2 separate regions of the Homo sapiens genome follow, and region 1 is linked to region 2. Evidence: promoter capture Hi-C in 16 types of primary human blood cells and fetal thymus (Javierre and others, 2016). All regions are on one chromosome and are shown on one strand. The core of a region is centred on a gene start or on the middle of the fragment in contact, and the rest is flanking DNA. Distances in the headings are between cores, read along the strand shown. Region 1 overlaps PLPPR2 (phospholipid phosphatase related 2). Region 2 holds the start of ELAVL3 (ELAV like RNA binding protein 3).

The links. Contacts are between HindIII fragments. The CHiCAGO score rates a contact against its expected background, and 5 or more counts as called.
Region 1: a contact is called between a fragment that was not itself captured here and the fragment with the promoter of ELAVL3 in region 2, in 1 of 17 cell types (erythroblasts). The highest score is 6.5, in erythroblasts.

The regions. Positions count from the first base shown.
Region 1 is chr19:11,364,438-11,369,537 of GRCh38, reverse strand. It overlaps PLPPR2 (phospholipid phosphatase related 2), which reads right to left. Exons shown (of 10, transcript NM_001393892.1): 10 at 3,840-5,100. The coding sequence ends at 4,848. Among named protein-coding and RNA genes, the nearest start is that of SWSAP1, 7.7 kb to the left of the region's middle. The HindIII fragment of the contact is 4,852 bases long and covers 1-4,610 here.
Region 2 is chr19:11,479,495-11,484,366 of GRCh38, reverse strand. It overlaps ELAVL3 (ELAV like RNA binding protein 3), which reads left to right and starts at 3,321. Exons shown (of 7, transcript NM_001420.4): 1 at 3,321-3,767. The coding sequence starts at 3,759. ZNF653 (zinc finger protein 653) reads left to right here. Exons shown (of 9, transcript NM_138783.4): 8 at 226-325; 9 at 508-938. The coding sequence ends at 685. RefSeq lists silencers at 1,515-1,954, 1,985-2,234, 4,609-4,803. The HindIII fragment of the contact is 20,383 bases long and covers 1-4,872 here.

The DNA of each region.
Region 1 (5,100 bases), core at 935-3,434, 110 kb after region 2:
TGCTCACCCTGTGCCAACTACTACACAGGCCACTTTGCTGTTCCCTGAACACAGAAGGCATGTTCCCACCTCAAGGCTTTCGCACTTGCTCTTCCCTTTGCCTAGAGGTCTCCCCACCACATATTTGCATGGCTCCCTCCCTCCCAGTGTCATCTCAGAGAAAACTTCCTTGATCACTTTTTTAAAAATTGCAAACCATAGCCCAGGCATGGCAGCTCACCCCTTTAATCCCAGCATTTTGGGAGGCCGAAGTGGGAAGATCGCTTGAGCCCTGAAGTTGAAGACCAGCCTGGGGAATATAGTAAGACATTGTCTTTACTAAAAATTTAAAAAATTAGCAGGCATGGTGGTGTGTGCCTGTAGTCCCAGCTACTTGGGAGGATCACTGGATCGCTGGATCCCAGAAGTTTAAGGCTGTAGTGAGCTATGATCATGCCACTGCATTCCACTCGTCGCTCAGCCTAAGCAACAAACAGAGCGAGACCCTCCCTCTCTCTTAAAAAAATTGCAAACCATGTCCCTATCCCACACTTGTCACATCGGCTTCCTTAGCTTGAGTGTTCTCCTTATCACATATCGATATCTAACATATCAGAGATCCCTTAGCTAAATCCATGATCCTGGAGTTGGAAATTCAGGATTTTTCAGATTTTAAAAAAGTAATAGGGTATAAATACTATGTATTTCATACCCCTGGTGGGACCAGGAGTAAAATCCTCAAGTCACTTTATCTTCAGCAAAACACAAGAATATTCACATCAAGTGAAATAAATAAAAGCTATATATAATCTCAGGTCAGTTCAGGTTAGGTTTTGCCATAAATGAGTTATGAAAGGATTTTGGTTTTCAGACTTCTTTTTCTTTTTTGAGACAGAGTCTCACTCTGTCACCCAGGCTGGAGTGCGGTGGTGTGATCTCAGCTCACTGCAACCTCTAACTCCCGGGTTCAAGCGATTCTCCTGCTTCAGCCTCCCTAGTAGCTGGGATTACAGACGTGTGTCACCACACCTAGCTAATTTTTGTATTTTTAGTAGAGACAGGGTTTCACCATGTTGGCCAGGCTGGTCTTGAATTCCCGACCTCAGGTGATCCGCCCACTTCAGCATCCCAAAATGCTGGGATTACAGGTGTGAGCAACTGCGCCTGGCCTGGTTTTCAGACTTCTATAAAAATTTGGAATTGTGAATCTGTATATAGCTCGTTTATTTTTATATTTATTAATTTGTGTATTTATTTATCCAGAGACATGGTCTTGCTCTGTCACCCAGGCTACAGTGCAGTGGCATCATCACAGCTCACGACAGTCTCGACTTCCTGGGCTCAAGGGACTCCCATCTCAGCCTCCTGCATAGCCGGGACTACAGGTACGCACCAACATGCCCAGCTAATTTTAAAATATATATATATATATATATTTGAACAGACGGGGGTCTCACTATGTTGCCCAGGTCATTCTCCAACTCCTAAGCTCAAGCAATCCTCTGGCCTTGGCCTCCCAAAGTATTGGGATTACAGGTGTGGAGACCAGGCCCCATTTACCTTGTTTGTTGTCTTACATATTAGAACGCTCACATCCGTGACAGCAGAGGTTTGTGTCTGTTGTTTACTGCTGTAACCTCCCCCTGCCACAACCCCCACCCTGTGCCTAACTAAACAGCACCTGTGCTTTGGTCTGAATGTTTGTGCCCCTTCCCCCGGTTCATATGTTGAAATCCTAACCCACAGTGATAGGAGGTGGGGGCCTTTTAAAGGTGATTAGGTCATAAGGGTGGAGTCCTCATGAATGGGATTAGTGCTCTTATAAAAGAGGCCCCAGAGAGCTTCTCCACCTTCTGCCATGTGAGACTAGAGTGAGTCTATGAGGAAGCAGGCCCTCACTGGCCACCGAATCTGCTGGGGCCTTGATCTTGGACTTCCCAGCCTTCAAAACTGTGAGCAATAAACTTCTGTTAGGCCAGGGGTGGTAGCTCATGTCTGTAATCCCAGCACTTTGGGAGGCTGGGGTGGGTGAACCACTTGAGCCCAGGAGTTCAAGACCAGCCCGAGGAACATGGCACAACCCTGTCTCTATTAAAAAAATAGGCCAGGTATAGCGGCTCATGCCTATAATCCCAGCACTTTGGGAGGCTGAGGCAGGCAGATCACAAGGTCAGGAGTTCGAGACCACCCTGGCCAATACGGTGAAACCCCATCTCTACTGAAAATACAAAAATTTGCCGGGCGTGGTGGTGGGTGCCTGTAATCCCAGCTACTTGGGAGGCTGAGGCAGGAGAATCGCTTGAACCCAGGAGGCAGAGGTTGCAGTGAGCCGAGATCGTGCCATTGCACTCCAGCCTGGCGACAGAGCAAAACTCCATCTTAACAAAAAAAGACACACACACACAATAAAAATAAGGCAGGCGCAGTGGCTCATGCCTGTAATCCCAGCACTTTGGGAGGCTGAGGCAGGCAGATCACAAGGTCAGGAGATCGAGACCATCCTGGCTAACACGGTGAAACCCCGTCTCTACTAAAAATACAAAAAATTAGCTGGGCGTGGTGGTGCGCACCTGTAGTCCCAGCTACTCAGGAGGCTGAGTGAGGCAGGAGAATCGCTTGAACCTGGAAGGTGGAGGTTGCGGTGAGCCGAGGTCGCACCACTGCACTCCAGCCCAGGTAACAGAGCGAGACTCCGTCTCAAAATAAATAAATAAATAAATCAGAAATTTATTGTTATTATTATTATTATTTTTTTTTTGAGACAGAGTCTTGCTATGTCCCCCAGGCTGGAGTGCAGTGGCACGATCTCGGCTCACTGCAAGCTCCACCTCCCGGGTTCATACCATTCCCCTGCCTCAGTCTCCTGAGTAGCTGGGACTACAGGCGCCCGCCACCACACCCAGCTAATTTTTTGTATTTTTAGTAGAGACGAGGTTTCACCCTGTGAGCCAGGATGGTCTCAATCTCCTGACCTCGTGATCCACCCTTGTCGGCCTCCCAAAGTGCTGGGATTACAGGCGTGAGCCACGATGCCCAGCCAAGAAATTTATTTTTTAATAATTAGTAGAGGAATTTAATAGTAGTAGAGAAATTTATTTTTTAATAATTTAATAAATAAGCCATCCTGTCCATGGTATTTTGTCACGGCAGCTGGAACAGACTAAGACCATCTAGCACACAGTAGGGGTTCTACAGTGTTTGCTTAATGAATGAGTGAATTAATTAAGGAGAGAAGGGAAACAGACTCCCTTTTCCTGGTTCCTGAGTGACTCTGGGTCCCAAATGCCCTGTCTGAAAGCCCTCAGAGCCACAATTGAGGGAGGGGTCCTGTGGCTCCCTCTCCCTGACCCTTTGAACATCCCCAGTATCTGCTGAGTTCTCAGGGGGGTTGGGTCTTGGTGTAATCTCATACTCAGCACCCCTGTTCTCATCCACACAGCCAGGTGTTCCACTTGGAGGTTCTTAGTGCCCCTCAGCATCCCCCATCCCTCTCAGGACCCCCAAGTATCCTCACCCCATTCCTTGTGCCCTCTGTGCCCTGGCCTGAGACACACAGGGCATGTACGGCTCCTGATGTGGGTTTGTGTGCCTTGGTAGCTTGAGTGACTGTTTGCCTTTGATAGATGAAGAAACAAGGGCACAGAGAGGTGAATGAACTTTTCTGAGGCCACAGAGCCCAGAATGCTGAGCCAGGATTTCAGCCCAAGTCTGAAGCTCCATGAAACCGGGCTGCCTTTCCACAATTGTCCTTAGATACACTGCGGCAACACACCCACACCCAGCTCCACAGACATCTAGACCCACGATGAATGTCCTCCGCACCCCCCCACCACCCGGGGGAGGAAGGCAGATGGCCAAACTTCTGTTACAAACAGGTCTTTATTAAAGATGAGAAGCCAGGTCTTTATTAAAGATGAGGAGGGGGCAGGAAAGGGGGGCAGTGCCTCCTCTACCCACTGCCTTTGCCTGCCCGGGGTGAGGGAGCCCCTCTGCTCCACCCATGCCCCCCATGATGGCACATCTGTATGAGGCTGAGGCATGGGGGGCAGTGTGAAGAACAGGGGCAGGTTCCAAGAAAAAGAAGAAAAACCCTTCCCACAGCCCTAATAAATAACAGAAGGGTTTGGGATGACCTGGGCACAGGCAAGGGGAGACACAGCACCCTGAACCCCAAAACCTCTGAAGTGGGGCAAGCCCTACTTAAGTAGGGGATTAGGAGAGAGTGGGTGAGAGGTGGAGAGGCCGCACACAGGGAGGGGCTGAGAGGAAAAGGGGTACCCCAAGGACCCTGCCATGGGGGAGCCTGCCCCCCACCCTACAGCTGGGCTCGCTGATTCTGAGAGAAGACTCAATGACAAACAATGACCTCATCTCCCTCCTCTCCTTTGCACATGCTTAGACACGGGCGGTCCCCCATTGACTGGAATCATGCCCACCCACTCTAGAAATTCTGGAAACCAAGGGCTCCTATTGGCTGTTCAGTCGCTGAACACTGGCTGGAGTTGCCCTCTTGCAGGAGGATTCTAAGAAGTGAGGGGAAGGCTCCCATTGGTTGGAGCCAACTCCTTTTGGTTAAAATTCTGAGAACCAGGGGTTCTCATTAGCCAGGCAATGGCCAATGGGGTCAAGCTTTGGCCCTTAAAAGGGCAATAGTAGGGGCAAGTGCGCACCTTCCATTTGTGCCCATCGGGATATCTCAGAGGGCCAGAGAGGCAGATGTCTCCTAAATGTCCTTCTAGCCATCTTCTAATGTCTGGGTCTGGCTGGCTTGGGGGGCAGGGGACTTTGGCACTCACGTGGCACACGCACACACACGCGTGGCAGGGAAGAAGTGGGGACTGGGCAGATTCTGGGTGGGTGGTCGGGCCTCACAGCAGGTGGTCACGGCTGGCAAACAGGTAAGGGCTGAAGTTGTCCCGGTGGAAGGGGGAGGGATAGAGTCCACTCAGGGTGTACAGGTCCCGCAGCAGGGGCGTGGGCAGCAGCAGCTTCCGGCCACGTCCACCACCCCCGCCTGGCCCCCCAGGTCCAGGGGAGGAAGGCGAGGGGCCCTGGCTGGGGGTGGGCGCTGGCAGGGGTAGGGGCAGGGGCAAGGGCGTCGGCTCAGACCTCAATCGAGGA
Region 2 (4,872 bases), core at 2,072-4,571:
TAGTGTGCACCCTATGCCTCTCAGGGACCCAAGTTCGATCTCAGTTCTGCTTGATGGCGTCTGTGGGCAAATGCACGGGAAGGACGTAGGGTTTGGTCGGCCTGCACCTGCAGTCCTGGGAGATCCAAGGAGACAGCCTGATGCTCCTTCTAGCATCAGAGTCTGCAGCACATCAGAGACACCCCATAGCCCACCGTCCTCAGCCTCGGTCCCCACCGCCCCCAGGTGTCCGTGAATTCACCTGCGAGACCTGCGGCAAGTCCTTCAAGAGGAAGAACCACCTGGAGGTACATCGGCGCACCCACACCGGCGAGACCCCCCTGCAGTGAGTGACAGGCCGCCCCGTGCCGCTAGAGGATTGGGTGGGAGGGGATCCCAGCAGGTCCCAGGGGCGGCTTCGCCCCAACGCAGTGTCTGGGCCCGGTTCCACCTGCGCTCGGCCTTGTAGGGCCCCGCCCCGCCCCGCCCACTCTGACCCCGCCCCGTCCCGCCACGGGCTCCCGGCAGGTGCGAGATCTGTGGCTACCAGTGCCGGCAGCGCGCGTCGCTCAACTGGCACATGAAGAAGCACACTGCGGAGGTGCAGTACAACTTCACGTGCGATCGCTGCGGGAAGCGCTTCGAGAAGCTGGACAGCGTCAAGTTCCACACGCTCAAAAGCCACCCGGATCACAAGCCCACCTGACCCACCTGACCACTGACCGCCCCTATTTATTCGTCCGCTCGGACACCACGCCCGGGCTTGCCGGGGCCTGGACAGCTGCGAGGGCCGCCCGGACCGCGGGCCGGAAGGAGGCGCCCCCGCCCCGCCCCAGAGCTGGGCCCCCTGGGCAGGTTCCCCACCCCGCCCCACCGCATCCTTCTCGGAGCTGGTGCCTGGGGCTGCATTGCTGGAACTGTGTCAAGAGAGCAGAGTGAGATTAAAGAGCGAGAAAGGAGATGCCCTTCCCCTAGGCCTGAATGATTTGGGGTGCCAGGCCCCTCTCTGTCTCCAGCCTACTTGATCCCTTCCTAAGCGAGGCAGGGAACGAGGGATGCCCCTGGGCCCAGCAGCCTCGCACAGCCCCTGCTCCCACAGGATGGGGTGAGGCTTGGGGGTCTGGGGTCTCTGGGCATCTCCCGGAACTCAGGACCCTAATTTCCACTTCCTCCTGTTTTATGGGGCACCCATCTCCCACCCTCAGTGAGCTCCGGGATGAGATGGGGAGGTGTTCAGTAAACCCCTAAAATGAGAAACATTTGCAGCTAGCGACAAGCGCCATGCAAAAGAGAGAGTGATGCGTTGTTTTCCGGGGATGCTGTTTAGGTCGGTGGTCAGGGAGGGCCTCTGAGGAGGTGGCATTTGCGCATAGACCAGAATGACAAAGATCTATCCCAGAAGAAAGCTGGGGGAGGAAATTCTCAGGCCAGAGGAACAACCAGTGCCAAAACCCCGAGGTAGAACTAGCTCGGCGTGTTCCTAAAACAGGAAGCCGCGGGGGGAAGGGGAGTTGGCGGCGGCTGCCCTGGCCCCATTTCCCGGAGGAGGATGCTGAGGCCGCCGCCTCCTGCGGGCCGCTAGAGAGAGGGGCGGGGAGCGAGGCGCGGCCGCTAGGTGGCGTGCGAGGCGCGTAGGCCCTGGTGGCCGCAGCCACGTGACCCTGGGGACCGCAGCCGCGAGCTCAGGCACGTGCCCGGGGGAGCCCTGTGGCGCCACGCGCAGATTGGCCCCGCCGGTTCCTCACCAGTTCGGGGGATGAGGCGGGGCCCCAGCTATGCCTCAGTTCCTGCTGCGGACCGGGGGGCTACCCCAGCCGGGGACAGAAGAATCGGCAAGGATGAGCGAGTCCGGCCGCTGGGGCCGCCCCCGCGAGCTCCCTCCCCCCGCGAGGCAGGTCCCCTCCACTCTCCCCGCACTGCCGGAGCCGGCAGGTTTCCATGGGAACCGCAGCGGGGTCCGCGCGCCCAGGAGCAGCCCCCCTCCTAGCTCAGTTTCCGATGACGGAAACCGGGAGGAACACGGGGTGGGGAACAGACCATCGCTTGGGGCCCCTAGCGCCCGCAGCCAGGTCGCCCCGGCGAGCCCAAGAGGGGCCACCCGGGGATCTGCACCGCCACCGCCCCTATTGCGCGGGCCACTGCGATTGGCCTGCCCTTTCCAGGCGTGGCAGCATCCCCTGGTGCGCGCACTCCCATTGGCTCGATCTCTAGGGCATCTTCCAGTAACTGGTTATCTCAAGGGCCGCCCCTGATTGGGCAAATTAGGCTCTCCTCGCTGGTGGCGCTCTCTGACAGTCTGGAGCCTAAAGGGCGTGCAGGAACGAGGATTGGGTGGGGACTGCCGCTCTCCAGTTAGGGGGTCTGGGCTACCTCGCCGGCAGCGCCCTCGACCGGACTGTCGGATTGCTGTCTGTGGTGCTGAAGCCTCACGCCCTGGCGACCCCGCCCCAGTGTGTGCTAGTTCCCGCGCCCCGACGTAAACATGCACCGGCGCCCGCGCACCAAAGGAGGCTGCGCCACCCCCAACGCCTTAGAGAGAGGCCAGGTTCCCCCTAGCAGAGAGCGAGCATGACTCCACAGTCAGGAGGACCAATCACGAGCCTAGAAAGCCAGGACATTTATGTGGCAGATCCACCCACCCCAGTTCTGTGGGGTCCAAGAAGGATCCGTGGTTTCCCAGAGCTGCATGGCTCCAGCGATGATTGTCCAGAACACTGAGCCCCAAACCTTTTCACCCCCTTCGGAGCAGTGCGGAGTTTCCTTGCACTGGGGAGTGCCAGTCCTTACCTTTTGAACCCTAGAAGGATCCAGCTCACTCAAAACCAACAGCGTCCCAGTCTCCTTCTGCAGAAGACTAGGGCCACAGTAGCCACCCTCCCCCGTGGTCTTGAGGTGGTCTACACTGGTGCCTCCAAATCTGGGGACCCAGGCCTCTGCCTACTAAAATATTGGTTCCTGATCCCCTGTCCAGTTCCCTCAGTGGACAACACCTCTGGAAGGTCGCATATTCAGGCCACTAATACCTCCTCGCTCTGTTGGCTCCTCCAGCTCTAGGAGCTGGACGGAGGAGGGGAGCCCGTCTCCTGGCCCGAAAGCCAGCCCAAGAAGGGGTGCCAGGGTAGGAAGCAAGGGCCTCGAGGGAAGGAGGGCCCAAATCTGGCAACCCGAGCACCTAGGATGCGCTTTTGGGGGATTCAGAGTCCCGACCAGTGCGCGCTCACTTCCACCTGCCGCGCCGTCGGGAGCCGCGAGGAGGCGGAGCTCGGTCGCCGCAGCCAATGAGCGACGCCGGCGCTGGCAGCTGCTGCTATAAAGGGCTGGGGGCGGCGGCGGCGCGGTCCAGAGCGCGGAGCGCGCAGCGCGGGCCGGAGGGAGGGAGGGAGGGTGGGCGAGGGGAGAGGACTTGAACACACGGGACCGGACAGGACCGACCGAGGGGCGGCGGCGAAAGGCAGAGCGCCGCGATCTCTGTCGGGAAGCGCAACCTCCCCGGGCCCCGCGGGGCCGCGCAGGGGGCGTCCTCAACCCCGCGCCCGCTCCCTCTTTCCATCCCCTGCCGCCCGCAGGCCACCCCGGGGCCCGGCCATCCGCGCGCGCATCCCCGGGTTCGGGCCCGTCCCTGGCCCTCGAGGGAGCCGCCGCCTTCATCGCCACATCTGCAGCGGCCGCACCAGAGGCCGCCCGGGCGGGACCCCAGCGTGAGCATCGGGCGCCCCCCTAGGAGTGCACCACCCCCGGAGCCCCCCTCAACACGGACCGCGCCCGCCGGGCACACAAGAATGGTCACTGTAGGTATTCCCCTGTCGCCGAAAGGGAATCGGGACGGGGAGGAGTTGGGCCCAGGCTCCGCGGAGATTGGGCGGGTGCGGCGGGGGGGGTAGGACCAGGCCTAGCTAGGCCCGGGTTGGGGGGGTAGGACCAAGCCTCGGGGCCTGAGAGTGGGCAGGGCCGCGCCCAGAGTGCTGAGGGCGCTTAGAGCTTGGTCTGAGAGGGCCTTAGGGAGACTGACTGCGATTCGGGAGGCGTCCGACGCCGCCCTGGAGGCGGGATTGCCCCCTCTCCAGCAGGCCTGATGGGGGAGGGGCCGCGGCGGCTAAGGATGCTTCCTCCATCCAGGCCCAGACCCCGCAGGCCGCCCAGGCAAACGCAGGGCCCGATCACTGGTGCTGGGCCAAGCCAAAGCGACAAAGCGTCCCCGAGAGCCCTGGGAAAGCGGGTGGCGTCGGATCGCGCGCCCCGGGCCTCGGCCGCACCCGGGAGGCGGGCGTCTCGTCCTCGAGCCCGTCGACCTTGCGGCAAGCGGGGAGGGGAGAGGAGGGGGCGCGCCCGGAGGCCCCGCGGGCCCGCCGCCGCTGCTGCCGCGTCCCTTTGTTTCTCGGCGCTTCTTCGCGGGCCGCAGCCTCGCGCGGGCGCCTCGGGCTGCGGGGAGGGGGAGGGGAGAGGAGGGCCCGCGGGTTGGGGGGGCACCTCTGGGCTCCCGGGTCTCCGCCCCCCGGGAGATGGGGTGGGAGGCCGAGACAGCCCCCTTAGGCCAGGTCCAGGCTCCCCACCTCGCCAAGGCTCTGGGCCGCGAGGTGACCTTGAGCGCGGCCCGCCCGCCTGCTCGCCCGCACCGCTAGCCCCGCGCTCGGTGCTTTCAGCAGCCACGGAGCTGGTCAGCTCCCGAGCGCGCAGCCCCTCCCGCCCTGCCACGCCCTGCCTGGCCACGCCCGGGCACGCCCATCTAGGCCCCGCCCCCAGGGCCCCGGGGGCCCGGCCTCGCCCGAGCCCTCGGATTCCCACTCGGCAGCCCGGGCGTATCCCGGGGGCGGGGCTGGCCAGTTATAGCCCCACCCCGGCTCCACCCCCGCCCCTGCCGCGCGACTCCGCTCCCCGCGCCGCCGCGCGTCCTTT